Regions from separate parts of the Homo sapiens genome. Here regions 1, 3 and 4 are each linked to region 2. Evidence: promoter capture Hi-C in 16 types of primary human blood cells and fetal thymus (Javierre and others, 2016). All regions are on one chromosome and are shown on one strand. Each heading gives the region's core, a stretch centred on a gene start or on the middle of the fragment in contact. The rest is flanking DNA. Distances are from core to core; before and after follow the strand shown. Region 1 overlaps LARGE1 (LARGE xylosyl- and glucuronyltransferase 1). Region 2 holds the start of LARGE1 (LARGE xylosyl- and glucuronyltransferase 1). Region 3 overlaps LARGE1 (LARGE xylosyl- and glucuronyltransferase 1). Region 4 overlaps LARGE1 (LARGE xylosyl- and glucuronyltransferase 1).

Evidence for each region. The method cuts DNA at HindIII sites, captures the fragments that hold promoters and counts their contacts. A CHiCAGO score of 5 or more calls a contact.
Region 1: a contact is called between a fragment that was not itself captured here and the fragment with the promoter of LARGE1 in region 2, in 2 of 17 cell types (total B cells and naive B cells). The highest score is 7.0, in total B cells.
Region 3: a fragment that was not itself captured here is called in contact with the fragment with the promoter of LARGE1 in region 2 in 1 of 17 cell types (naive B cells); the score reaches 5.4 in naive B cells.
Region 4: a contact is called between a fragment that was not itself captured here and the fragment with the promoter of LARGE1 in region 2, in 2 of 17 cell types (naive B cells and total B cells). The highest score is 12.8, in naive B cells.

Annotation. Positions count from the first base shown.
Region 1 is chr22:33,287,280-33,294,375 of GRCh38, reverse strand. The region is part of intron 12 of LARGE1 (LARGE xylosyl- and glucuronyltransferase 1); the gene reads left to right. Among named protein-coding and RNA genes, the nearest start is that of LARGE1-AS2, 130 kb to the right of the region's middle. The HindIII fragment of the contact is 194 bases long and covers 2,678-2,871 here.
Region 2 is chr22:33,917,051-33,923,731 of GRCh38, reverse strand. LARGE1 (LARGE xylosyl- and glucuronyltransferase 1) reads left to right here and starts at 3,256. Exons shown (of 15, transcript NM_133642.5): 1 at 3,256-3,737. It overlaps LARGE1-AS1 (LARGE1 antisense RNA 1), which reads right to left and starts at 2,507. Exons shown (of 2, transcript XR_001755630.2): 1 at 2,209-2,507; 2 at 677-1,325. RefSeq lists silencers at 2,389-2,888, 3,209-3,358, 3,629-3,728. The HindIII fragment of the contact is 4,427 bases long and covers 619-5,045 here.
Region 3 is chr22:33,324,594-33,332,017 of GRCh38, reverse strand. The region is part of intron 10 of LARGE1 (LARGE xylosyl- and glucuronyltransferase 1); the gene reads left to right. Among named protein-coding and RNA genes, the nearest start is that of MIR4764, 110 kb to the left of the region's middle. RefSeq lists an enhancer at 6,503-6,552. The HindIII fragment of the contact is 6,065 bases long and covers 1-4,626 here.
Region 4 is chr22:33,304,624-33,311,263 of GRCh38, reverse strand. The region is part of intron 11 of LARGE1 (LARGE xylosyl- and glucuronyltransferase 1); the gene reads left to right. Among named protein-coding and RNA genes, the nearest start is that of MIR4764, 130 kb to the left of the region's middle. The HindIII fragment of the contact is 2,776 bases long and covers 1,221-3,996 here.

The sequences.
Region 1 (7,096 bases), core at 1,525-4,024, 630 kb after region 2:
CAGTGGGCTCTCTGACATTTGATGCTGCAGAACAGGGCTGTGGAAACCCAGGGCTCCGAGAGCTGACAAGTCTGGTTCTCTCCCAGCATTCTGACAGCAGCCCCAGTGCCTTCAGCCCTGCGATTCCCAATAGTTTGTCACTTGTCAGCATTGGCCTCAGCCATTTATTGCAACACCGCAAAGAAGTCAGCACGGGCATTTCTGTTACAGGCGTGGAAACCTGAGTGGCAGAGATGGGGAATTCCCCAACCCCTGCCCGAGGAGTAGGGGCCACAAGAGGTCCCAAATGGTTACCAGCATCCAGTGGGCTGAAAGTCAGTCATCCTGGTGAGAAAAGAGAGAGTAGAAAGATGCCTTCAGAATTATGGGATGGGCTTCTTGAAATAAGGCTAGTAGGAGTGGTCATTAGTGCTAAATGCAGAGATAATTCAAACAAGGTGAGAATGGATAAATCTGTTAGACTTGACAGTGAGGGGACATTGCTGACTTTGGCCAGATCCACAGAGTCAAAGACAGATTATAATAGTTTGAGAGACTCATGGGTGGTAATGAAAGGAAATAGCCAGTATAGGAGGCTCAGTATAAGCCAGTGACATGTAGGATCAGTACACATGTTCCCAATCTCATAATACTCTTTGTTTTCTGACCTCCGCTCCACTTTGCTCATTCAAGGTGGAATCTGCCATGTGGATGAGATTGCATTTAAGGAGCATAGGTACACAGATCGTAGCCTCCTGCCTTCTCCCTTTTTGCCATTCCTAACCACTCTCCCACTACTGCCTTGACCCATGAACTCAAAGAAGTTCATTTTTCCAGTTGCAAGGTTGGGAAGACAGACACAATCACTGCATTAACAGACTTGGTCCCAATACATCTTGTGGTTATTGATCTTTCCTGCTTAATTTTAAGCTGGTGCAGACTTCATTAATATCATTATATGATGATGATGATAACTACTAGCTGTGTGGTAGTTACTTGTTAACCTCTCAGAACTTTAATATCTTTATCATTAAACTGAAAATATGAGTATGTAAGTCATAGGTTGCAATAATTAAGAGAAGTAATGCATATAAAGCACTTAGCATGGGGCTTGAAACTCAATGCATGTAAGCATTTATTATAATTTATCAACCACCTACAGTATACCAGGCAGGTGCTGAGAAATTCAGTTTCTCCAATCCTATATGCTTTCTCGTTATCAGAGCTTTGCAAATAACCTGGAACACCCTTTCCTGACTGGCTAACTCCTGCTTCTTGATTGGAACACATCTCAGTGATGAGAAGTCTTCCATGACTCTGCACACAGAGAGGAGTATGCTTCTGTCTTCCTCCCTCCCTACACTGTGAGCTATGCATGGACAAAGTTATATGTGTTCATTTAGCTCTGTGCCCAAGGTTTAGGTGTTGGCTTCATTAATATTCATTAATTGATGAATATATTATCTTAGTTCTCTTAATCACCAAGTCCATAAAGCATTTATTATTATCAAGATAAGGAAACAAAAGCCCGGGGTGTTAAGAAAATGGCCCATGATTGCACAGTTAGGGAAGTAGTGGAATTAAGATGGAATCTACATCATCCGATTAAAAAGATCATGCTCTTTTTTTCTCACTGTTCAGCCTCCCTTCAAACTGGCATGCCACGAGAGGTACCCAGCCATCAGGTGTGCTGAAGATAATTTCAGTTGGCTCCTCTTGAAATATCAGACTCTGTGGCTCCAATCCCATATGTCAGGCACACAGCTGGAATTGAGGAGCAGCTAGGCGTGGACTCTCCTGTTTATCCCATCCCCTGCTCTCCCCTCTCCCTTTTGTCTCCTCGACATGTAAGCCTGGCATCCTTTGCCATTGAACATCGTGCTCTCTCCCCATCAGCCTGCACCATTATCCACATCACTGGCCTGGCCCTGCAGCTGCTTGAGGTTGCCCCCCAAACCCCCCAGTATAGAAAGACACAAAAAAGAGATACTTCCAGAATCCTTTGTCCCTGTTTAAATTTGACTGTGCTCTCTCCTTTTCTTAACCTCAGTGATGGATTATTTTTCTAATTTTGTTTTCTTGAAGATGGCATCAAATTGGGTTTGTAATATGTCCTAGTTCGTTTTGTGGTGCTATAACAGAATACTGGAGACTGGGTAATTTTTTAGAAATGTATTCCCCATGGTTCTAGAGGCTTGGAAGTCAGAACAAACTTGGTGGCAGATTCGTTGTCTGGGAGGGCTGCTCTCTGCTGCCAAGATGGTTCTTTGTGGGTTTTGTTTGTTTGTGTTTGTTTTTGTTTTGAGACAGAGTCTCACTCTGTCACCCAGACTGGAGTACAGTGGCACGATCTCGGCTCATTGCAACCTCCGCCTCCCTGGTTCAAGCGATTCTCCTGCATCAGCCTCCTGCGTAGCTGAGATTATAGGTGTGTGCCACCATGCCTGGCTAATTTTTTGTATTTTTAATAGAGACGGGGTTTCACTATGTTGGCCAAGCTGGTGTCTAACCCCTGACCTTAGGTTATCCCCCAACCTCGGCCTCCCAAAGTGCTGGGATTATAGGTGTGAGCCACCACGCCCGGCCCCAAGATGGTTCTTTGAACACTGCATCCTGCAGAGGGGAGGAACGCCATGTTCTCACGTGGAAGAAGGTGGAAAGGCAAAAAAAATGGGACCAAACTCTCTCTTGTCAAGCTTTTTTTTTTTTAATCATTATGTATTAAATGTATTGATGTAATACATTATGTATGTATTGATGTAATACATTATGTATTAAATGTATTAATGTAATGAATACATTATGCATTAATGTATTCATGAGGGTGGGGCCCTCATGACCTAAACACCTCCCATAAGGCCCCACCTCTGCTGCTGCATTGGGAATTAAGCTTCCAACACATGAATGTTGGGGGACACCATAGCACAATACCTAAGCACGCACCAGTGAGAGAGGAGGAAGTTATTTCAGGGAATGCTGAATAGAGGAGAATGCATAAGGGTAGACAGACAGGATTTAGGGAGTTCTTCCTTTGGTGGAAACTGGCAAGTAACTGGAATCCCATTTTCAGGCAAATCGTGACCATTGTGGGACTCCAGGATGGGTCTGATTGGACCACAAGGGTCTCTTCTCCCGGGTCTTCACTCACTGTGAAGGAGTTAGGTGTTGGTCGTAGAGTTTTCCTTATATCCTCTCCTGTGGACCAACATAGGTTAATTTTTCTAGACACTTAAGATGAAACTAAATTGGCCAGCGTTGTGACATGGATCCTTTTCCTGATTAGCAATCCAGCCTTGCACTGTGTTGACTTATTTTTGCAGAACCAGAGGTGAGGAAGGGAACTTCTTTTTTTTTTTTTGAGATGGAGTCTCGCTCTGTTGCCCAGGCTGGAGTGCAGTGGTGCAATCTCAGCTCACTGCACCCTCTGCCTCCCAGGTTCAAACGATTCTCCTGCCTCAGCCTCCTCAGTAGCTGGGATTATAGACACGCACCACCACACCCAGCTAATTTTTGTATTTTTAGTAGAGACAGGGTTTCACCATGTTGGTCAGGCTGGTCTCGAACTCCTGACCTCAGGTGATCCACCCGCCTCAGCCTCCCAAAGTGCTGGGATTACAGGCGTGAGCCACCGCGCCTAGCTGGGAAGGGAACTTCTAAATGGCCATGGCCCTCACACCCACCTACTTGACTGGTGCCCTAGATGCTAGCAGTCAGGGAAGATGCCACCAGCGACCTCCATGTTGCCAAACCCAGCTGCCAGCCCCCAGCTCTCATCTCATTTGACTTCTCAGCCACCTCCAACTGCCGGTGACTCCTCCATGGCACACGTTTTATTTTCTCCTGGCTTTTAGGTGCTCATCGCAGTCTCTTTGTGGTTCTTCAATCTTCTTGGTCCCTCCCAGGAGTTCCCATTGCTGGCTCCTCTTCTCGTTCTACCTGACTCCCATTTTATAGATATTCCATGTTACAGATACGGAAATTGCAGAACCAAGAGATTAATTAAGTAGTTAGCCAGGATGCAGACCCGAGCAGCCTGCCTCTAGAATGTGAACCACTGTGACTCCGAGGAGGTGAAGTTGTCAGAACTAGGCAGTGCACGGCGTTTCCTTATGTCTTCCGAGACACTTTCCCGTAATCTCTTCATGCCAGGAACCTGGGCTGTTTCCCTGGTTACAGGGACCTGCCTCTAGAGGAAAGGATGGAGTTAAAAAGAGAGAATGAGATGGAGGGAGGGAGGTGTGTATGTATGTGAAAGAGATCAACAGCCAGGGTCAGGTTGAGGATTGGTAATTCCATGCCACCGTAGCACCAGGGAAACCCATCCAGCTAATACTCTGCCCTTCCATCCATGCTGTTTCTTTGGTTTATGCAGAACCCGGGCAAGCCTACCATCTGCACCCACCCCTACCCCTTCATTTGGCATAGGAAGCCTCACTGCTCACTCACACTCACATCCCCTCCCCTGCTCGCCAGTTTTGCCAGATTGGAGCAAAAGAGGATACGAACTACCCATATACCTGAGTGAGCTGAGAGGAGGGGCTCGGGGAAAAAAGATATACAGAAGAGGAGGCTGTGGGGGGCTTTGGAGGATAACCTTTATCAAATTCACAGTTTCCCCACTGGTTAGCTCTGCCACGCTGGAAAAGGTGAATTTACTCTGTGAGCAACACCTGAATTGTTTTTGTTACAAAGAGGGACTCAGAGGGCTGGCTAGAGACCGAGATCTCATAAGTTCTGTTTCTGTAGATGAGCAAGCAGAAGTCTTCCCTGGTTGTAAGTAGTATGTTGACTTCTCTGAATCCTCCTTCACTCTCGCCCATTCTCTTGCCTTGGATGCACCAGTAGGCTCAGCTGTGACAGGGGAAGGGGACTTGTTTGTTAATGAGTTAATTCTAAGTCAGGCACTGCTTTGGGCTCTAGAGCCCTGAGAGATGAGAGATAAGCCTTTATTATCTCCATTTAAGATGGGGAACCTGTGGTTGGGAGAGGTTGCAGAATGGGCCTGAAGTCAGGAGAGAGAGGAGCAGTCAGGTTTGGAAGCTGCTGCTGTCTGGCTCCAAGTCACTTATGTTCACAGGGCTTCCCATTGTATCAGCAAGGTTCTGAGTTATTTATATTGTTTTAAGAACTCCTTGGTCCAGCTGGGCGCGGTGGCTCATGCCTGTAATTCCAGCACTTTGGGAGGCTGAGGCAGGCAGATCACGAGGTCAGGAGATCGAGACCATCCTGGCTAACACGGTGAAAACCTGTCTCTAGTAAAAATACAAAAAATTAGCTGGGTGTGGTGGCGGGCACCTGTAGTCCCAGCTACTTGGGAGGCTGAGGCAGGAGAATGGCGTGAACCCGGGAGGCGGAGCTTGCAGTGAGCCGAGATCGCACCACCGCACTCCAGCCTGGGCAACAGAGCGAGACTCTGTCTAAAATAATAATAATAATAATAATAATAATTCCTTGATCCAATATACTATAGTAGGTTTGTGAATGTTCTTGCAAGTGTCTTGGACAAGACAAGGGCAACAAAACTTTGAACCTGTGCATAGGCAGGGACTGGAGCTGGTCTGCAAAGAGGAGTCAGACCATAAGGAAGAGACTGTGTCAGCTCAGGCCCATGTAGGGGACAAGAACAGAGTGGCAGTCCAAGAAGGACATCAATAGAGCTTGGTATCATTGAATGATGAGGAGGAATCTGGACCAGGTCGGAATTAGGACACTTTTTATTTTAGGTAAGGTACCTGGTATTAATTTCTGTTGCTTGCAGCTAAACAACCCTAAGCAATATATTACAAGACCCACAGTAGACAGACTCAGTAAGCAGCATGTCTTACCAGCACAGTCCTCAGGGGTCTCCAGAGACACAGAGCCAATAGGAGATGTATATAGTATATCCTATAGATAGTAATATATGTATCAATATGCAGAGCTAGATAGTGATATGTGTACTGATAGATTGACAGAGCTTAAGGGATTGGCTCACACTGTTGTGGGGTTGGCAAGTCTGAAATTGACAGAGCAGGCCAGCAGGCTGGAAACTGAGGCAGGATTTCTGTGTTACTGTCCTAAGGCAGTATTCCGTCTTCTCTGGGAAACTCAGTTTTTGTTCTTAAGGCCTTCAACTGATTAGATGAGGCCCACCCACATTATCAAGGGAAATCTCCTTTCCTTAAAGGTAACTGATTGTACATGTTAGCTATTAGGTTGGTGCAAAAGTAATTGCAGTTTAACACGTCTATGAAACACTTGCACAGCAGTGTCTGGACTAGTATGTGACCCAGTAACTGGGCGCCATAGCCTGGGCCATCTGATACAGAAAGGGAACCATCATAGGCATCATGTACCCCGTGCTTAATGTGTGCCAGGCCTTGTAGCAAGCCCTTCCACAAGCACTGTGCTTATCCTCATCAACATATTTTTCAAGTGCATCAACCCCAGGACTCAAAATAGTGAAAGTGACTTGCCCAAGAAGACAGCCTAGTAGAGTCAGAGCTAGACGCCTTGTCTAATGACCACTACACCTGACTGTCCTCCAAAGCTTCCATCTTAATAATCTACATTTAGCAATCTAAAGAGTAATAGAGTAACCCAAAGTCACTCAGCTTCTCAGGGTGGGCCTAGAACTGAAGTCTCCTGGCTGTTCGCCCAGCTTTCTCACTCATCGTCCTGCCCCACTGTTCCTGGAAGACTCTGCATTCTATCCTCTGCAGGACTCACTTTCCAGAGAACTAATGGCTGCAAATTGTTGACCCCTAAGACAGCAAGCCCCATCCAGGGTAAGATGTACTAACAGAACACAGAACAGAAAGACCCAGGCTGCTGTTACCTTCTCAATAAACAGATGAGCTCAGAGTTTGTACCATGAAGCCTTGTTTATTGCTGAAACAACTTCATAATGAGACCCTTTCAGGACATCGGTATTGAAACCTACTTGAACTGACTCTGAAATAGATCTATCTGGTGACAGATCCATCTTTGTGGCAGTTTGTATTTTAGTGAGATGAAAGGGAGTTTGCAGAAAGCACTCTGGAATCTGGTGCTATCTATGCAGAGGGAAATAAGGCTTGCTAGGACTGTAATTGTGAGGCATGCTGCTTGCTGAGTCTGTCTGCTTTGGGTCTTCCAG
Region 2 (6,681 bases), core at 2,007-4,506:
AGATAGCTCATTTTTTTTTTTCATTTTTCAGTTCTCAGCAAAAGCTGCGCTCATTCTTTACAAATAACAGATATATCACTTTACATATTTTATTCTGCATTCTCATACTATATCGTAGCGGAAATCCTTTTAAGACATTTGTATCTTGGTTGTGTCAAAAGGCTATAATTCCTGGTAACTACATCCTACTTCAGGGTTTCCATGTATATGTATATACATATTTAGTTGCTTGGACTGGGGAGTTGAGGAGCTTTACAATTTTCCAACGTAATACTTTAAACCTGGGGCTTGATGTACTAACCAGAGGACTCAGTATGTGGCACATTTCAGTCTGACAACATTAATATCATTTAGAGCATTAGCTATGCCACTGACTGCAGGCACTTGCAACCTTGATTTGATAAAACAAAGCTTTTCCACATTTAAGGTGCTTATTGACCAATGCAAGTACACTTTGTGAAATCCACTAATAAGGCATTATGTCTTCAACGTGCCTTACTGACCAGCGTGAACATTGCTAGCTCCCACACCATGGTCACATTTTTCTTTCTTAGATTCCATCTAGAGAATGTACTACACTTGAGTCATTATAATGGAGATGTTTCTTTCCCGGAAGCTTATCTTTTAGTTTCTGATGTTATTCAACTATTTCTCCTTCGCTTGTAAATTTCAGGTCTTTTCCTTTCCTCAGTCACGTTACCTTTATTAATATGCTAATGTGCTGTAATAATGCATTTTACACCACTAATGAAGTGAAGCAAAGCAAAACGTAAAAAGAAAGTACAAATTCTCCCTTTAACTTTACCCGGTTCCGGGGAGGGGGTAGGGGTGAGAGAGGAGGAAGAGAGTAGGAAGGAAGGACATTCGGGCGGCAAAAAAATAAAAATGATCCCCTTGTTTTCAGCGCGTTCTGGAACAGAGCTGCACGTCAGAGGAAGAACTGAGCAGCCTTCGAGCTAAAAGACTTGGCATTAAACTTTGACACTTTAATGGTCTCTAGGATATTAGATAGTATTTTTTCATATAATGTTCTTCTCCGACACGGTAATGGCATCAGAAACAGAATCTGCTATGCCTGCCAACGTGCACGGTGAGGCTCATCGCCGCAGAGGTAAGACAGCAGGACCCCAGCTTCGCAGTTAACTTATCCCGAAGCTCCAAAGCAAACGTCTTTTACTTCTTCGCCGGGGACGCTGCTGTACCACCGCTGCCTCCCTTTCGCATTCTGCTGGGCTCGGTCAGCCGCTGAGATTAGGTAAACAGCGCTCCGGAGCCGGGGCAAAGCGGGCGCTGCTGCTGCTGGTGGGGGTCGTTGTTTCACGAGGCTGGAGGGAAGGGGGATGGGAGAAGGGTCCCAGCTCGGTAAAGCCAAAGGCCGAGAGTGTGGTTACCGAGGCGGGAGCCAGGTCCGGAGCCAAGCAGGGGCCAAGCCTCCGAAGCCCTTGCCGCCCCACCCCCCCAGCCCGACCTCGAGGAGTGGGGTCAGCTGGGCAACCCAAGCTCGGCGGCCCTTTCCCGCGCGCCCCCTCCCCAGCCCATCCTTCCCCTGCCCCTTCCAAGAACTAGGGTGGGCTTCCCGCTGCCTCGCTCGAGTCCTGGAGAGCGGAGAGGCGCGCAGAGGGAAGGCAAAGACCCGGCGGCCCGCCCGGCTGGGGAGAGGTGGAGACCCGGGGGGAAGGGGACCCCAGAAGCCCTGGGACCGAGCTGCGGAAAAACCCGGGAGCTGGATCGCGCGCCCGGAGCTCCGGTCTCCGAGTCCGAGTTGTGCAGCTCTCGGCGTCCTCTTTCTCTCCCTGCCTCTCTGCTTTCGCCTCCTCTGGGTCTTCTCTCGAGGGCATCCTCCTTCCATCCATTCTCACACCCCCGCTCCTGTGCCCCGACCCATTTCACCCACTTCTCCTGTGGCTCGGGAGGACTCTCCGTACCCCCACCCTGGTCCCTAGAACTGGGAGGCTGGAAGTCCATTCAAGGGATGTTGCGCGCCGGGTTCTTATGCCAAGAGGGAAAGAGCGAGAATAAAATCAGCAGGGGAGGGGCGTGTTGTGCGTGCATGGGGTGTGTGTTTGGGGTGGAGGAAAAAGAAATGTAGTTTCCTCAGAGGAAGAGGAAGCCTTGGACAGGATTCTTGGATACCGATCCCAGAAAGATGCCGTCAGAGCCCTTCGGCGGGGCTCCTCACAGACTCCGGCTGCCCCACAGCATGCCCACCTCCGAGAGAAGCTGCGACCCGAGGCGGGGAAACTTCCTACTTCTCACGACGGCTGTTTTGTGCAATTTGGGGAGCAGGCTGCATGGTCCTGCAAGCCTGCGAGCCTCTCTACCACGGCAGCTGCGGGCCCGTCCCGCTTCCCTTCCCCCTTTTTCCGCGAGGCACGCCAAGCCCGAGGCGGCCGGGAGCCGCCGGGGTTGGGGGAAGAAGGGCGGGGAGCTCCCAGCTTGCACCCTTTCATCCCGACCCGGCCCGGGATCCCGGCTCCGGGTGTTGCTTCCGCCTGCCTGCCAGCCAGCGAGCTGAAGAAGCACCGGGGCGGAGTCTCGCCGGGGGGCGGAGCCTGTGCGGGGGCGAACTCTCGGTCCGCGCGGCTGCGGCGCTTGCCATTGGCCGGCCGCTCGGTCACGGGGTCGGGGGCGGGCGCCGACGCGGGCGCCGGCCCCGCCCCCGCTCGGAACCCAGCCCCGGCTCGCGGTCCCCCCCGGCTGCACAGACATGACACAGACACACAGTCACTGCAGCTGCTGAGCGAGTCCGGCGCTCTGGGCACGCGGAGGCGGCGGGGCCAGCCCGGAGCCCGGACCCCAGCGCCCGCCCCTGCCGGTTCCCGCGCGGCGGCCCACTCCTGGCCGGGCGCGGGAGGCGGGGATCGCGCGCCGGCTCCGGCCAGCGGCGCCCGGCTGCCCGCGGCGGCTGCAGCGGCCGCCCAGCTCCGAGCGCCGGGCGCTCCGGGAAGCCGGCGCATCTCGGAGGCGGCGGCGGCGGCCAAGGCCGGCGAGCGCTCCCGGCGGCGGGGGCCGCCCGCCTCGGCTCCCCGCACCCACCGCGCCGCGATCCACTCGCCGCGCCTCCGCTCCCGTGACCTTCCCGGGGCGCCTCCCCTAGCCCCGCGCCCCCGGCCCCGCGCCCCAGGCCGGGGCGAGGCCTTTTCCGGCGCTTCTTTCCCGCGGAGCCGCGGGCGGGCGGCGCAGGCCCTGGGGGAGAGCGCGCCGCGGCCGGTTGCAGCCCCCCCCGCGCCGCCGCGTTCGGCGCCCGGCCCGGCCAGTCTGCTCCTGCCCCGCCGCCGCGCCGGAGCCCGGGCGCCCGAAGCTGGGGGCGCGGCCGCGCTCGTCTCGCCGGGCTGTTCGCGGGCAGGCCCTGCCCTGAAGGGACGAATCGGCTTGGAGCGCGGGAGGTGGAGTCGGCCCCGGCGGTCGCTCCCTGGACCCAACCCGAGGCTGACCCAGGCCCCTGCCCATGCGGGGCGCCCCTGGCTCGGAAGAGTCCCCCGGGCCGGGAGCAGCTCCAGGCAGCGGCCCCGGAGGAAGAGGAAGAAGGGACAGTGCTCAGCTTGGGGGACCCGGACCCTCGCCGCGGCATTTGGAGCCGGGGGCAGTCCCGAACTCTGTGCTTGGCACCGCCGCTCCGAGTAGGGCAGCGCCTGCCGGGACCCTGACCCGGACCCCCTGCGCCTCGTAGGCGGCGGCGCCGCCGCGCCACCCTGTTCTTCCGTGTCTCCCTCTGCCTGGCGGCAGTCACGGCCAAGGTAAGAGCCCCGGAGCGCGAGAGTCGCCGCGGGGGCGCCGTGGTGTGTAGCGCCGGACAAGTTCTCCGAACCTGTGGCTGGTACCCCCTGTACTCGGGATGCCGGCGGGGAGGCCGGGCACACCCTCTGCTGCCCCGGCCGGGAGCCCTGGAGAGGCTGGAGGTGGAAGCCCCCAGTCTCCGAAGTCCCCAGGACCCCCTCAGGGCCTGCTCGGCTTCTGGGCACACAGGCTGCTGGCAGGGAGCGAGCCAGGAGGAGTTTCTGGTTAACACCACGAGGGCATGTGACCGATACCCGCACCCCCGGCCCTCTTGTTAGCGGTGAGCACCTGTGGTTCGCGGAGCCTGCCGTGTTTGGAGAGGGCCCTGTTGGGCGGTACGCAACTACCTTTCGTGGTGTGATGCTGTGAATAACTTTTCTTGTTCCTTCTTGCAGACAGTCCTGCGCAATTTGGGGGCGAGCAGCCACAGCTTGCGAGTCCCTCTTTAGGACAGAGTGGTTGGTTGGCATTGCTATCTGTAGGGGGGAAGCCCAGCCAGCATGTCCTTCCTGTTAGTCAAAGCTGCTTGTGAGGAGTGATCAGTGTATAGCTATCCAGACATTCTTGTAAATGTCACTGCTTTTGAAGTTTTGGAGTGAGGACTCCAAAGTTTGTGTATCCTCAAGTTATTTTGTTCATTGCCTTATCCTCTTTTAAATGTTCCTCTTAAGGAACCTCAGTTGTACAAGCCTGTCCTTGCCTGTTTGAAATTTATTAAACCTGTGAGCTTCCCCCAGAACAATCTGATTTTAAATGGGTCACTTCGGAGGGAACAGATTGTCTCTTGCACACTGAATCCATCCCTTGGGTGACCCTGTTTAATGGGGTTGGACTCTTTTTTTTTTTTTTTTTCGTCTCTGTGCTGATGTGCCTCGGTTGAGCAGGTTTCTGCTGAATTCAGAATCCGTGAATTTTGTCACTCAGTCCATTAAAATGATCTCCTGAGGGAGCAAAATAGCAGCTTACATTTTTCGTGAATGTCACTGGAAGTTTTACAGGGTCTTATGTAAGTGCCCAGAGAGAGAGAGAGAGGAGGGAGTGGGGGGAGATCAGGCTCCTGCTTCCTTCAAGGGGAGAAACGGAGGGGGTGGCAGGTGGGGGCGTCCGCCTCCCTGACATGCAGATGCCTTTCTTCTCTGACACAGGTGTGGAGACCTGAAGTGCTTATCATTCCGTGGAGGCAGTCACCTCGGGTTAATTTTTCTTCTCACTTCTCCTGTCTTCCCACCTCAGGAGTCAGCTTTGATAGACTTAAGATAAGGAAAGCTTCTAAATTAAGAAGGGAACAAGTGGTGGTTGTTTCTTCTCCCATCCCTCACAAATGGGTGACATGAATGAATTACTCACTGGCACGCTTGGTCCTCCCTAGGGGTAAAAATAAAAGAAATAAAAACGCCAGCTTTAAGATTTCACACATCTCTTAGTGTACCTTTATTGTTCAAGAGTACTTTAGTGAAAATTGCTTGTGGAGAACACATTTATCGAGCCTGTCCCTGTTAATTCCATACCAGGAAGAAAACTCACTCGAACAGAGAGGCAAAAATCACCAAGATTTAGAGGTTAGTGGGTTTTCAAGAGTGGCGAGGAAAGGAATCAAATCCCCCTGGCAGGAGAGAGAGGTTTTTAACGGGAAGATCGGATTGCTCTGGAGTGAGCAGTAGCTGCTGACAAGTGTGGGCCCTCCTGCTTCACTTAATGAAGTGTGCTGGGGTGTGGATTAACTTTTTGATGTGAGCCAATGCAGATTCCTTTGGCTTTTAAACCATACCTGGAAGGGCCTTAGAAATGAAATGAAAGGTTTTTTTCATCTCATCATAGGTCTCGGAAGTGCTTCCATCTCTTGGGAAGGTTGTGACGAAGGTTTCCTTTGTTTCTGGGTTCCTGAGCTGCGCTTTAAAGTTGATGCACAGTGCAGGGAGGGTGCGTCCTGTAGTGTCGCCATCCTTCAGCCACCTACAGTAGCAGGACACTAGGGGGGACTAGTTATCTTTTCCACCATCGAAGAAGAAAACACCAGGGCCCATGTTACTGTGGTTTATCTTGAGGGTTCATGAGCCTGTGGTTTATGTTGAGGGTTCGTGAGACTGTGGTTTATCTTGAGGGTTCCTGAGATGAACTTTTTGGGATCTAGTACATGCTTGCACTAGTGAGTGGATTCTGAGTGCCTAAGGGATGGGCCTGCTCACATCTAAATTGTCATTTGGACAACTCAGAACCAGTTAACTGCAAAATGTTATGTGACATTCTGAAAAGACTCAGTTATAATCTCTAAGTATTTAAGGACTACAAAAAGGCTCTATCCTTTGAATATTAGACCATCCTAACTTTAAGTTCCCTAACAGTTTGTAATCAACACTTTTGGTGTTTGGTTTTTGACTGCATATTCCCTGCAGTCATCATAAAATCACATGGCTTCAAAATGTCTCTGCAGTGGACTCCATCAAACTTAAAATTCCCCTTAAAAATACATTCCGTATACTTAGAGATGTTAACATAACATTTGACGGTGTAGTTGCACTTCCACCTCAGACGCTGTCTGCACTTTTAATAGTATGAAATCATTAATGTCCACAGCCCTTCCAGCAGAATTGGAAGATAATTCTACTTCCCTGAAGAACACTGACTGCCCCATTGCCTAGGTTTACCCAAGTAGCTAAGTCTTATCAAAGCTGATCCCAGAGGTGGGAGTAGCGGGGAGACAGGAAAGATGCAAGGTAGAGGCCAAGAAGAGCCTGCTTAGTTTAGAATACTGTCACAAAAACAGGCAGATATCACCAAGATGTTGGTCACACTGGATTCTAAAAGGCCCAGTTCAGCATGTAGAGTTAGACTCTGTTTGAAACCTGTGAACCCACCTGAGTTATTACTTTTCCCTTGAACTCTGGGGTCTGGTAGACGGCATTT
Region 3 (7,424 bases), core at 345-2,844, 590 kb after region 2:
TACAGACAAGCAGAGGATTATTAAGTAGTGCGGTTAGTGCCAAAATAGTGGTAGTGCTTTGAGAGCACACGGGAAGGGCATTTTACACAACTAGGGAGAGAAGGTGCATCGAGGAAGACTTCCTGGAGGAGGTGAGATTTAAAGGTTGAATAAGTAGGAGTGAAGGAGTCTGAAGGGTAAACTTGGTGGGTGGGAGGGAGCAACATGAGCACTGGAGACCAGGAGCCAACACAAGCATGATCACTCGAGGACCTGCTGGGAGTTGAGAGTCAAATGAAGTCAGTGTGAGAACTATAAAAATGGCTGCACAGGCCAGGTGCGGTGGCTCACGCCGGTAATCCCAGCACTTTGGGAGGCCGAGGCGGGCAGATCACCTGAGGTCAGGAGTTCAAGACCAGCCTGGCTAACATGGCGAAACCCCGTCTCTACTAAAAGTACAAAAAGTAGCTGGGCATGGTGGCACATGTCTGTAATCCCAGGTACTCGGGAGGCTGAGACAGGAGAATCGCTTGAACCTGGGAGGCAGAGGATGCAGTGAGCCGAAATCATGCCATTGCACTCCAGCCTGGGCAACAAGAGCAAGACTCCGTCAAAAAAAAAAAAAAAAGATAAGAAGAGAAAGAGAGAGAGAAAGAAAGAAAAGAAAGAGCTGCACAAGTTAATTTTTGCATTATTTTAACTTTTTCACTGGGAAATTGATAATGACAACAAGAGTATGAGCTCTCTGGTAATCTGAATCGCTCATTTAATAGACACATGACCTCAGAGAAGTCACCTAAATGCTCTGAGCCTTGGGTTTACCATCTGAGAAATGGGTACATGACACCATTGCCATGGGGTTTTATGAACAATTGAAGGCCAAAAAAGAAGGACTTGGCACCAGGAACACAGTGTGCCTTGGGATGAGTTTCTTCACAGACCCCAATGCCTGACCCATGTGATCATAATCCACTGTTCCACACATAGGCTTTAGGTTTTATTAGCAACTCTGGTAAAAAGACGTAGCAGAGAAGGGAACCTGTAGAGTCTCTGAGAAATCTGTCTGTAAAGCATGTGAGAGGGTGTCACATTTGCTCTAAGTCAAACAATCCCCAGTATCCCCACTGATTCGGAAATTCAGGGTAGGAAGAAGAGGCTATTTGGTTTGCCTTGCTGCCAAAATAAAAATAAGGACATCCAGTCAGGGATGTAATTCTTCATCAAGGAGCCAAGATGTGAGGGGCAGAGCGCCATTTCAGAGCCACTGGTTGGGCTGCTTGCTCTAGGACAAGACAGTTTGATTTGCAAGAGAACAGGCTCCCCCAGTGCTATGGAATGACAGTAGCTAATTGGTCACAGCCACTTGTCTCTCATAGTTTGGGCATCTCTCCCTGGAACTTGTAAATTCTTTATGTAGTGCAGTAAGCATTTGGTATGCATTGGTTATTATGAGTTGATTGATTGACATAGGGATGGAGGTTAGAATTCTATACCTTAGCATTTCTCTCCCTTTTCCTCAACAACCCAGCCCCTCAAGAATATCCAAGAAATGGCAGGGTGCGGTAGCTCATGCCTATAATCCTTGCACTTTTGGAGGCAGAGGCACAAGGATTGTTTGAGCCCAGAAGTTTAAGGTTGAAGTGAGCTATGATCGATCCGCTATACTCCAGCCTGTGTGATGGAGTAAAACCCAGTCCCTAAAATTAAATTAAATTAAATTAAATTTATAAAAGAATATCCAAGAAACCCCAGGACTCTTCCAGAACATAGTTGGATAATCAGAGCTATTCTCTACCGTTTTTTCTATTCAGAATCCTTCCACAGTATCCCTAATAGGCTTGCATCTGGCTTCTGCTGAAATTCTCCCAAAGACAGAGAGCCACCTTCCAAGGCAGCTTACTCTGCTATTGGAAAGCTCCAGATGCTAAATTGTTCTACCTCATGTTGGGCTGAAATATTCCCTTCTGTAAAGAACCCACTGATCTGAGCCCTGTCCTCTGGAGTCTAGGTTTTGTTGGGTTTTTTTTTGTTGTTCTGTTTTTTTAATGAAACATAAGGAAATAAGGATCCTTCCACCTCCCTAGTACCTGACAGCCCAGAAGATAGCATAGAAAGTTTCCATTCAGTTTGCTATTTAGAAACATGCAATGCTCCCTAAGTATTGTATTTGTAGGGTGATGCTTTATCATCAAGAGGGTCTTGCTCCACCTAAGGGAATTTCCAACTAAAGGAACCTCATCTTTTTAAATGCAAAAACCATTAAAATAGATGGGTTTTAACCAATTTGGACAGGAAACTTGCTGCTAAAGTGTATGCCGTTCCTTTAGTAAGCAAACACTAAACTCAGTTTAGTATTAAACTAAGTTTACAATATTTGATGACTGTGGTTACATTGAAAAGGCTGGAGGAGGTGGAGGGGGTTGTCCAGAGGAGGAAAGATACTGTTTAACCTGGCAGGAAATGGCCCCAGACTGTTCACTGCTTATTCTGTGGATTCCTTTCTGACAGCTGTCACTTTCTGCTTATCAGCTTCAGAACAACCCTTTCTGGGCTCGCCTCCTTGTTCCTTCTTTCCAAGGCAGCCAACGCCCCCTTCCCCCCACAAAAAAAAAACCCACAAAGGTATTTAATTTAGAAAGACTGATGGTAAAAGAATGATCTGTTGTTATGTTAAAAGCTAGATTATGAAACATACCAAACATCCACAAACTACAAAAAAAAAATACACTGGACACCAATGAATTTTTGAATGTATATGGAATTGTAAGTCAACAGCCAGTGTCTCCAACCCCTGCCCACAGCAGACATCACTAATTGATGACTGCATTATTCACCTATGCCCAGCTTCTTTATCCTCCTCAAAACAGCACTCTGAGTAATCAGTATTGGTCTCCTAGCCTCCTAGTGATAGCAGGGAACCAAAGCCTGCTGGGTATCCCTACGATAGGTATTAGTCATTCTGGTCTCTCCTGCATGAGCACAGCTCTTTGTGCTGTTCTAAGACCTTTCTCTGCTTGCCTCTAGCTTTTGGGAATTGGAAATTTTCTACAGGGAAAGAAAGAGAAAGGGAAATACAACTTTAATCTTCACCACAAAGAGTGGGAGTCATTATGAGTCACATTTCACAGATAAGGAAAGGAAGGCTTCAAAGAAATGATTTACTTGTTCAAGACCACACAACTCCTAAGTGCTGGGGCCGTGATTAGAAACCAGGTCTACCTAACTCTAAAGCCACAAGACAAGGAAGTGCTTCCCAAATGGATGTAGCTATGTATGTCATATTAATGTAATAGTAAGTTACATTATTACATATATCCAGGTTATTCCACAATTCTCCTAGTTGTTATATGGATACGGTTTTCTTACTCTTTCACTAACCCTTCAAGGTAGTTCCTGTTATCTCCTTTTTTATTATTTATTTGTTTTATTTTATTATTATTATTATTATTATTATTATTTTGAGAGAGAGTCTCGCTCTGTCACCCAGGCTAGAGTGCAGTGGCACAATGTCGGCTCACTGCAACCTCCGCCTCCCGGGTTCAAGCAATTCTCTGCCTCAGCCTCTCGAGTAGCTGGGATTACAGGCACCTGCCACCATGCCAGGCTAATTTTTGTATTTTTAATAGAGCTGGGGTTTCACCATCTTGGTCAGGCTGGTCTTGAACTCCTGACCTCGTGATCCACCCACCTCAGCCTCCCAAAGTGCTGGGATTACAGGCGCGAGCCACTGCTGTTATCTCCATTTTATACAGAAGGAAATAGAAGCTCAGAGAGGTGAATTCATAGAACACGTTGGTGGCAGGGCTGAAGCCGGTATCAAGCCCTGATTCATAGTTGAGTGGTCTCTCTACGACTATTTAAAATACTCCTCTATCTAAAATTGCAATGCCTGTCCCATACCCCAGCACTCCCTCTCTCCAGGGCTCCTTCATTTTTCTCCATAGTACTTATCACTAATATAATCATGACTTATTTATTTTTGTTGATCATGTCTCTACCCACTAGAATGTAAGCTCTGTGACTACGGGGCTTTTTATCTGTTTTATTCATCAGTACATCTTCATTAAAGAGTGCCTGGCACCAGATCCATGCTCAATAAATCTTGTTGAACAAATGAACTATAACAAGTCCTTTTCTTGAAGCATTTGTGGTGTGCCAGAAGCATCCCTCCACTTGGACTCAGAAAATTTGGCCCAAGCTGGGAATAGTGGCTCATACCTGTAATCCCAGCACTTTGAGAGGCTGAGGCAGGAAGATCACTTGAGCCCCAGGAGTTCTAGACCAACCCAGGCACCATAGTGAGACCTCGTCTCTGTGAAAAATAAGCAAACCACACATGCCTGTGGTCCTAGCTACTCAGGAGGTTGTGGTGGGAGGATCACTTGAGCCTGGGAGGTCGAGGCTGCAGTGAATCGAGACGGCACCACCACACTCTAGCCTGAGCGACAGAGCAAGACCCCGTGGCCCTAGACCAGATCTATGATTTTAGGCATAACTCTAGCCTTACATGAACCTCGGTTTTCCCATCTGTAAAATGGTCAGTAAATGCACCCACACCAGGCTATTTGAGGAAAGTTAAAGGGGTTAAAGTATTCAAAGTGCTGCACCATCTAGGCAGTTATTGTTACGAGTATTTTCCAGAAAGCTTGTCTTGGATACCCGCTCTCTCAACTGCTGGGAGATCACTGCCTCACCTCTGAAATGAAGAAGGCTTCCAAGCTTAACTCTCTCACGCTATGAAGGTGACAGGCCACTTCCAAGGCCACGTTCCCTGACACTAAGCCTGCTAAGAGGAAAAAACAACAGCATCACCTCAACTAGAAGTTAAAAATAAGACACATATAAACAGATTCTATAACATTGTATGGCATCACCCTGCAAGACAATGCCAAGAAACAGATGGCTCTGTGGAAACAGCTGTATCTCAGAAGAATCCCGGAGAAAGCCCAGAATGCATTCCTGCTCTCACGTGCGAGCCGCATGTCGCCAACTCTTCAGTCACGCAGCAGGCAGCAGAGCCCAGGATGGACAGACCCAAAACCCTAAGACAGGCTAGGCTGCTCAAGGCCAGTCTCCAAAGGACCCTCCAGGAATGTGTTAAGCTCCAGAGAGAGGGGGTGAAGGGAAGAGGAGCTGTGGGATCAAGAGACTCAGTGGATACAAGTCTGGGCCACGGTTTCCCCTTGTGGCCTGGCTGCTTTGATCCTGTTCAGCTGCAACTTACACAGAGCCCTGTTTGACCCCTCTAGGCACTGGTTGTCATCTCTCTGCACTTGCCAGGTGTTCGGCCCTCCCTTGTCTATAAAGCAGCTCCCTCCCTTCCTCTCCTTTCCACCATATCTCCCTTTCTCAAGTGGCATCTCTTACTTGTGCAGTAGATAAGAAGGCAGCTCTGGAATGAGGCTGCCTCATGTGAAATCCCAGCTGGACTGCCAGCTGTGGGATTCCTGGTGATCTGCTTAAACTCCCTGCACCTCAGTTTTCTCATCTGTACGATGGAAATTAGTTATTCCTATCTGATAGACTTAAGAGGAATCAATAAAGTAAGACAGGGCCAGGAGCTTAGAACAATGTGGCAGATGGCAAAGGCCCCCCAGAATTAAGGTTTGTGTTGTGATTGCACTGTGTTTGTAATTAGTGACTGGCTTCATTGCCTCTCCTCCTAGACCATAGGAATAATACAAGTGCAGAAGCAGGAGCTCATTCCCCATTCCTAGCACAAGACTTGGCATAAAATAAGAGCCTATGAATTGTATGTGATGCGTGAATTAATACTGATAACTGGGAGGGAGGAGACCAAGCCTTTTTCTTATCTCCTCCAAGTCGAGGTCAGGGCTGGGCAGACCCTCTCTGAACCTTCACTCAACAGTCCTGAATGCAGCCCCCTACCTCCCTGCAAAAGAATGAAAATGGACTCATAGTTTGGTTTCCTTAGTAAAAAAATGCTTTGGGTTCCTGGAACTTGTTGATTAATACACACAGCAGGCAACGAGGAAGGTCGTGAGCTTTTTCTGCCTGTCTGTGTGGCTTAATAAGATGTAACTGCTTTGTGGAAACCACAGGGACAAGCTCTGGGTTAGGTTTCAGGAGACCAGAGTTGGAGCCCCAGCTTCTCTGAGCACCTTGGGCCCTCATCTGTCAACTGAGGGCCCTAAGGGCAGCCTTGCCTGTCTCATGCAAGCGCTGGGGAGGAGTAAAAATGAAATAGTGGATACGAAGCCACCAAAAAGTGAAAGCAAGTTGAAAGTGCAAAGCAACATGCTTGAGTGGTAATTTCCCCATCAGTGATTTCACCCATTGCCCCAAGACATCAGAAGGAGGGGTGTCACAGGAAGGAAGAAACGGGGCCTCCCAGACTCCTTAATTGGTCCATCGTACTATGTCTCCATCACTTACAGGCTACAAGCATTCAAATGTGCCTGTTAGTCAAGGTAGCACAAGCAGCTGTAATGTGGCTCAACCTGCTGGAACCTTGCAGAAAGTCCACATGGGTGTTCATGATTGGCAGGTAGTTTTTCTGCAGGTTGAAGGACCCAGGCTCCTTTTGTCTTGTGGCTCTGCCCTCCACAGAACCCCAGCCTGCTCTACAGGATTCTCTTGCTCTGGCTGTCAGCCAAGAAAAGAAGGCGAATAAAATTTGTTCCTGAGCAAGGCTTCAGAGTGGTGCCTGTACTAGCCAGAGCCTTTCCAGACTCCAGTGGCCAGAGCTGTATCACAGAGTTATTCTTAACTGCAAGGAGGCTGGAGATACAGCCTAGCTCTGTGCCCAGGAAGAGAGCAAAATATGGATATTGGTGAGCACAGGATGTTTCTGCCACCATGTGAAATACATGTGTTGAGTCCTCTGCAGTCACAGAATCGTTTACTGTTAGAACTAGAAAGAAGCCCAGAGGCTGACCAACTAGGCATTGTAGTGAGTTGGTTACCTGCAAGAATTCAGAGGAAATACACCTGGGTTTGAATCTCAGCTACTCTGTTCGCGCATTGTATAACCTTAAGCAATGGCTAAACCTTTCAGATGATGGATGTCTTCTTCTACTAAAGAGGACTAAGAGTGGTTCTTGATCTGTAGAGTTGATGTGAGTCTTACATGAGAAAGAACCTGCAAAAGCTCTCCCCACTTTACCTGACCCAGTGAGTGCGTGATCCTTGAGCGTCACTTTAGGAAGTCCAAACCCTTTGTCTTACTAATTCAGAGACATGACTTGCTCAAGGTCGCATAGAAAATGAGTGTCAGAGATATCAGGTCTCGCTTTTCAGTTATCCCCATAATCTCACTCCTTAGTTTGCGCAACTGTGAACAGAAGTCTCTAAGGCCAGAGCACAGGATGCACTTGTACTCCCTCTGGATCCTCAGGTATAACCAGCCATCATTTCCAGCAGCTCAAAAAGTCAGTCTAGGCCACTGTCCTTAAAGATGAGGAGAAATAAATGCAAACTGCCTA
Region 4 (6,640 bases), core at 1,359-3,858, 610 kb after region 2:
CCGGGGCCGGGCGCGGTGGCTCACGCCTGTAATCCCAGCACTTTGGGAGGCTGAGGCAGGCAGATCACAAGGTCAGGAGATGGAGACCATCCTGGCTAACACAGTGAAACCCCATCTCTACTAAAAATACAAAAAATTAGCCTGGCATGGTGGCGGGCGCCTGTAGTCCCAGCTACACGGGAGGCTGAGGCAGAAGAATGGTGTGAACCCGGGAGGCGGAGCTTGCAGTGAGCTGAGATCGTGCCACTGCACTCCAGCCTGGGCAACAAAGCGAGACTCGGTCTCAAAAAAAAAAAAAAAGTCCGGGCCCCACTCACATATACAGCAAACACCAACCATAGCGGTCTTCCCTTCAAAGCATGGACAGCCCAAGCGTAGCAGACACACGATACCCACTCCTGTATTGTGACATGTATCACCATCAGGACAGTATCTCAAGAGAACCCAAGGGATGCCAAGCCCTAATGAGAGGCACTTAACGGGCCACAATTAAAAATTATAAAGCGGCACTGCAGGCTTATGAAGAATGGTAGAAATTCCTGCAGCCACTTCCACTCTGTCAACACATCCGATTATGATGCAGCACGCGGACTGGTGCCTGTTGGATTGATTTTTAATTTAAGAAACCTTTCAGATATATTTGTAAACCTTCGAGTCAGAAGTAGGCCCTACGTGAATGCCACAACGAATTAGGAGAGCCGGCCTTCGCACTCCCGTACGCAGCTCCCTCTGGAATTCCGTTCAGAAAGAATGAACGTTGCAACCATGGCCATGAAGCCAGGAGTTCTGCTTCTCCTTCAGCAGCTCAGCACCCTTCCCTCCCATCCCAGCAGAAGACACCAATGGCAAAGGGACAGAGGGAGCTGATCACGAGGGGTTCACCTATCTTCTGACACCACACCAGGGAGAGCCTGGTTCTTTAGTGTGTTTTTGACAAAGATGTTAAGTGTTGACTACAGTTGCGGGGCCTCATGGGGATGACAGGTCACTTCTCTGCTCTCTCTGAGTAAAGGAGAGAGAATGGGCTGGGCTCACAGAGCCCTACTCTCTAGAACAGCGTTGCTTCAAGCCTGCTCCTGGAACCAGCAACACAGCATTGCATGGGAGCTTGTCAGAAATACAGATTCTCAGGCCCCACCCCAGACCTCCTGAACCAGAATCTCGGGTGGTGCCTGGAAATAGGGGTCTTAAGAAGCCCCGCAGGTGATCTTTAAGAAGCTTACATTTGAAAGCACTGACCGTTCTGGAGAGTGAAAGGTAATTTTTTCTCCATGTAACAGGCAGAGCGATGTTTTAAAAATGTAAATCAGGTCACATCATTAAAACCCTCAGATGACTTCTTGTTACATGTGGAACAGTGTCCCACCCGCCTGCTGTGGTCTTCAAGGCCCATCCAGCCTGGCATCTGTGCAACCCCTGACACCTTCATCTCACCCCTGCCCCTCACCGTCCTGTGCTGCACCCACACTGGTCCTGTTTCTTCCTGCTCGAACATGCTGAGCCCATTGTTACCCCAAGGGCCATCCCCTCTTCTTGGAGAGCTTTCCCCCCAGACTTTTCACAACGCCAGATCCTTCTCATTATCTGCTGTAACAAAATGCCACAAATTATTTGATATATGAACAATGGAAATGTATTTATCACAGTGCTGGAGGCTGGAAGTCCAAGATCAAGGCTTCGGTCGATTTGGTGTCTGGCGAGGGGGCACTTCCTGGCTCACAGAGAGTGCCTCATTACTGTGTCCTCACGTGGTGGAAGGAGCCAGCTAGCTCCCTGGGCCTCTTAAAAGGGCATGAAGGCTAGGTGTGGTGGCTCATACCTGTAATCCCAGTACTTTGGGAGGCCAAGGCAGTCAAATCACCTGAGGTCAGGAGCTCCAGACCAGCCTGGCCAACATGGCGAAATCCCATCTCTACTAAAAATAGAAAACTTAGCCAGCTGTGGTGGTGCACACCTGTAATCCCAGCTACTCAGAAGGCTGAGACAGGAAAATCGCTTGAACCTGGGAGGTGGAGGTTGCAGTGAGCTGAGATCGCACCACTGCACTCCAGCCTGGGCAACAGAGTGAGACTCAGTCTCAAAAAAAAAAAAAAGGCACGAATCTCATTCAAGAGAGTTCCACCCTCATGACCTAATCACCCCCCAATCAAACCTCTGGTTTGTCGATTGTCTTTTTTCCCCACTAGAATAAAAGCTCCTGAAATGCAGGCGCCTAGGCCCCTTGCCTGTATAGTATACCAGATGCATTGGAAATAACAAATATTTATTAGGTGAAGACATGTTTGAGAGGCAGAAATAGAACCTAAGGAGGAAATTACAGCTGTCATATACTGAGTACCTGCTGTATATCTAGCTTTGCACCAGACACTTTGTATCATCATCTCATTTAACCCTCAAATCCAAGTAAATGTTACTGTTTCACAAACTGCCCTGAGTCTTAGCAGCTTAGTACAAGAACTGGAATGAGCTTGTGATTCTTTGGATTGGCAGTGTGGGCTAGACTCTGCTGGGCTCATTCCTGTGTCTGCCGTAAACTAGGTAGCTTTTCGGGGGTTTGTCTGGCTATCAGCAGGGACCATGGGAACGCCAGGGCAAGGTGGTGTAGGGCTAGTTCACATGGCGGCAGGTACAAGCCGGTTGTCTCACCTCTTCTCATGTCATGTTTGCTAATATCGCATGGACCAAAGCAAGTCATGTGGCCAGGATTCATGTGGGAGATTATTTCCAGAGGGTATGGATAGAGGCAAAGGGACGATTGATAGCTATTTTGTAATCTACCAAAGGCATTATTATCCCCAAAATACATATGTGCAAATTGAAGCTCAAAGAGCTGTCACTTGCCCAGGAATACTGACATAGCTCAGAGGACAAATCCAGGCCTGTCTGACCCCAAAACCTACAGTTGCAAGCTGTGTGATATGCTACACAGCCTGCCTCATGGGCAGTGCACCAGATTAGAATGGTCCGCCTTGGTGGGTGTGAGTTCCCCATCCCAGCAGACACTGAGTGATCACTGCCTGGGCTGCTTAGTCCCACTGAGACTCTAGAATTCCTTCCAGCCCTGGTCTTCTGGGTTTCTGACCTGGCCGTCTCCCTACCTGTTCCTTTATGACTACAGAGACTGCGTGAGGCTTCCAGCTTTAATGGGACTCTCTGGAATAGCCCCCACCTGTTTTTAGATCTGCCAGACATTTCTGAGCCTTTGCCCACCCCTCCCTAGATGAAGCAGTGGTGGGCTCGATGGGGTAGTGGGAACCAACATGGGACAGAGACAGGCCTTCTGGGTTTAGGGTCAGCTCTTCCATGGACTCATCCAGCAAAAGAAAGCCTGGCCACAGAGCTTGGCATCAGCAAGAACTGCACGGGGACGACCCTTAGGGAACACATGAGGGGAGAGAACCTAGGAGGTAGAGGTTGCAGTGAGCCGAGATCGCACCACTGCCTCCAGCCTGGGCAACAGAGTGAGACTCTGTCTCAAAAAAAAAAAAGAAAAGAAAAAGGGCACCAATCTCATTCATGAGAGTTCCACCTTCATGACCTGATCACCTCCCTAATCAAACTCTGGTTTGTTGATTGTCTTTTTTCCCCACTAGAATAAAAGCTCCTGAAATGCCGGTGCCCAGGCCCCTTATCTGTATAGTATATCCGATGCATTGGAAATAACAAATATGTATTAGGTGAAGACATGTTTGAGAGGCAGAAATAGAACCTGAGGAGAGGGCCGAGGGGATTGTGGAACTTTGAGACAGATACCAAGAGGGACTGAGGAGGGGAAAGAGTGGGGAGGCATTGACACCGGGAGAAGAACACGCTCTTACTTGGGGAAACAGACAATGAAGCAAAGATATTTGGGAACATTGTTCTCAGCCTAACCCCAATCCATAGTAAATAATGACCTGGATCCGGGCTTTGGGGTGAGGTAGACCCGAATGTGAATCTATGTCCTTCACTTTGTAACTGCGTGACTTGAAAGAAGTTATTTCACCCCCTTAAGCTTCCTTGCCTGTAAGAGGGTGGTGACAATCTCAATATTATAGTTACTATGAGGATTAAATATGATAGCCACAGTGTGGCAAAGACATGACAAGCAGCAGGTAAAGGGGGAGATGGATGAGATCATGATCACACTTTAAATATTACCATCATTATTAGAAACCTCAGTTTGTCACAGTTGTTCAGGTCCTGGCAGAAAAGTTGGTTCTAAGGGACTAAAGATTGGAGAGATTGGGGCTGGAGGGCATAGAAACAGCAGTGCGTTGTGTCACCATTCTGTCTCGCTTGTGGAGGTTCCACAGAACAACATCCAGCTGTGTTATCTGTAAAGCTCAACTTATTTTTCATGTGCACAGCACCTTCTGAGAACCTTGAGTATTTTTTCTCTATTCTTTTTTTTTTTTTTTTTGAGACAGATTCTCACTCTGGAGTGCAATGGTGCGATCTCAGCTCACTGCAACCTCCACCCCCTGGGTTCAAGCGATTCTTCTGTGTCAGCCTCACAAGTAGCTGGGACTACAGGCGTTCACTACCACGCCTGGCTAATATTTTTGTATTTTTAGTAGAGATGGGGTTTCACCATGTCAGTCAGGCTGGTCTTGAATTCCTGACCTCGATGATCTGCCCGCCTTGGCCTCCCAAAGTGCTGGGATTACAGGCATGAGCCACCGCTCCTGGCCTCTCTGTTCTTACCCTAAACTCTTGGCTGAGCTTAGGAGAGGGACTGTGGCAGGTCACGGGGCAGGGGAGGGGTTCCTTTCTTGGAAAACTGAGACACAGAGGCAAAAACCAAGCCAGTGAGAGAATCCTGAGAAGTGGTCCTCTCTTCATGCCCAGCCAAACCTCCCTCCTTCCGCCCACTTCCTTCAGCAGGTCTCATGTCTACATGCTAGAAATTATTCTTGCGTTTTGCTCTCCAATTCTCAGAGGAGTTGTACAAATGGCCCTCTCATGAAGCGCAGAGTCCCCCACATTTGCAGAAGGTAAAACAGGTGCAGGAGGCATAATTCAAAATTCCAGATCAGAGCCCAGGAGAGGGCAGGCCCCCACAGCAGAAGTCTAGTACAAAGTTCAGTGCAATTAGGCGTCATGGAGAATGCATGCCTTTTTAAGAAATGGCTCTGGTCGGCCAGGCGCGGTGGCTCACGCCTGTAAGCCCAGCACTTTGGGAGGCCGAGGTGGGCGGATCACGAGGTCAGGAGATCGAGACCATGCTGGCTAAGATGGTGAAACCCCGTCTGTACTAAAAAATACAAAGAAGAAAATTAGCCGGGCGTGGTAGCGGGCGGCTGTAATCCCAGCTACTCGGGAGGCTGAGGCAGGAGAATGGCGTGAACCCGGGAGGCGGAGCTTGCAGTGAGCTGAGATCACGCCACTGCACCATCCTGGGCAACAGAGCAAGACTCCGCCTCAAAAAAAAAAAAAAGAAAAAGAAAAAGAAATGTTTCTGGTCAATTTGGTTAGCAAGCATTATAATGGATGAGAAATGGAGAGCATTTTGCACTGGTGAATATCTTAATCCTCCCTATTGAACGAGGAAGCAAATCTGGGCAGTGCCACTTAACAGAATTACTGAGAGAAAACTCTGGAAGTCATCAAAAAGGCCATTGAAACAAGATAGGTGTGCCCATTTCCTTTTGTTTAGAAGCATGGAAATGCATGGAATCGATTTCCTGGTAATCGTCCGAATAAAGTGGGCATTCTGACCAGGAGACTGCTGATTACGTACCTCTTGCTGGGTAAGGAAAAACAATTCAAGTAGGCTTTTGCTGTTTCTTAGCCATAGATTTTATGTACCAGACGCTTCTAACGCCTTTGAAAGAAAATATCTTTATAGATTTATCTTCAGACGTCTTTGCAGAACCCTCTCTGTTGCAAACCCTCCACACACACCTTTTTTTTTTTTTTTTTTAATTTTTTCCCTGGGCTCTATTTTTCCCCCTCTCCCTGGCTCAGCATCTCTGAGGTAGCCTTGCACAGTTGCCTGGCGCCCTGGGGTAGTAGGGGCTCTGAAGACGAGTGATGCAGACAGCATCACCCCAGGTAGACTTTTGTTTCCAACATTCACATATTTTTCTATTCCCTTTTTTAGTGTTATTTTTTTCTCCCTGACTCCAAGGTCCCATCAGGGTACCTGTCTACACATGTCTGGCCTCTAAGTGTAAGAGGCCAAGCTGATTGAACATACGGCACGTCCGTTCCTCCATCAGGAAAATGGGGAGAATGACAGCTAGTGCTCAAGGTTATTGAGAGAATTCTGGGAAGCTCCTGGCACACTGCAGCACATCTGTAATTATAGTTGTTGTAGCTCTTGTGTTTACTGTTTATTTTACCGTTCCTTGTAACTTAGCAGCCTCTAAGTTTGTGTAAGTCCTCTCTGGCTGGTCACTGCCTTAGGAGATCAGCAGAGCTTTTTTATACCTTTGTGGAGAGAGAAGTGTAGGACTTTGGGGCTGGAAGGGGATCTTCAAATCATTTAATATACTCACCACCTGGCTTTGAAACGAGGAGTCCAAGGCTTATAGTGGGATACAACTTCATATCACATGTTCAGTTGGAAGCAGGGAAAGATGAGAACCAGCAAGGTAAGTGTTTTGATGCCTGTTTTATAGGTAAAGGAACTGAGTGAGTCAACGTTGAAAGCAGG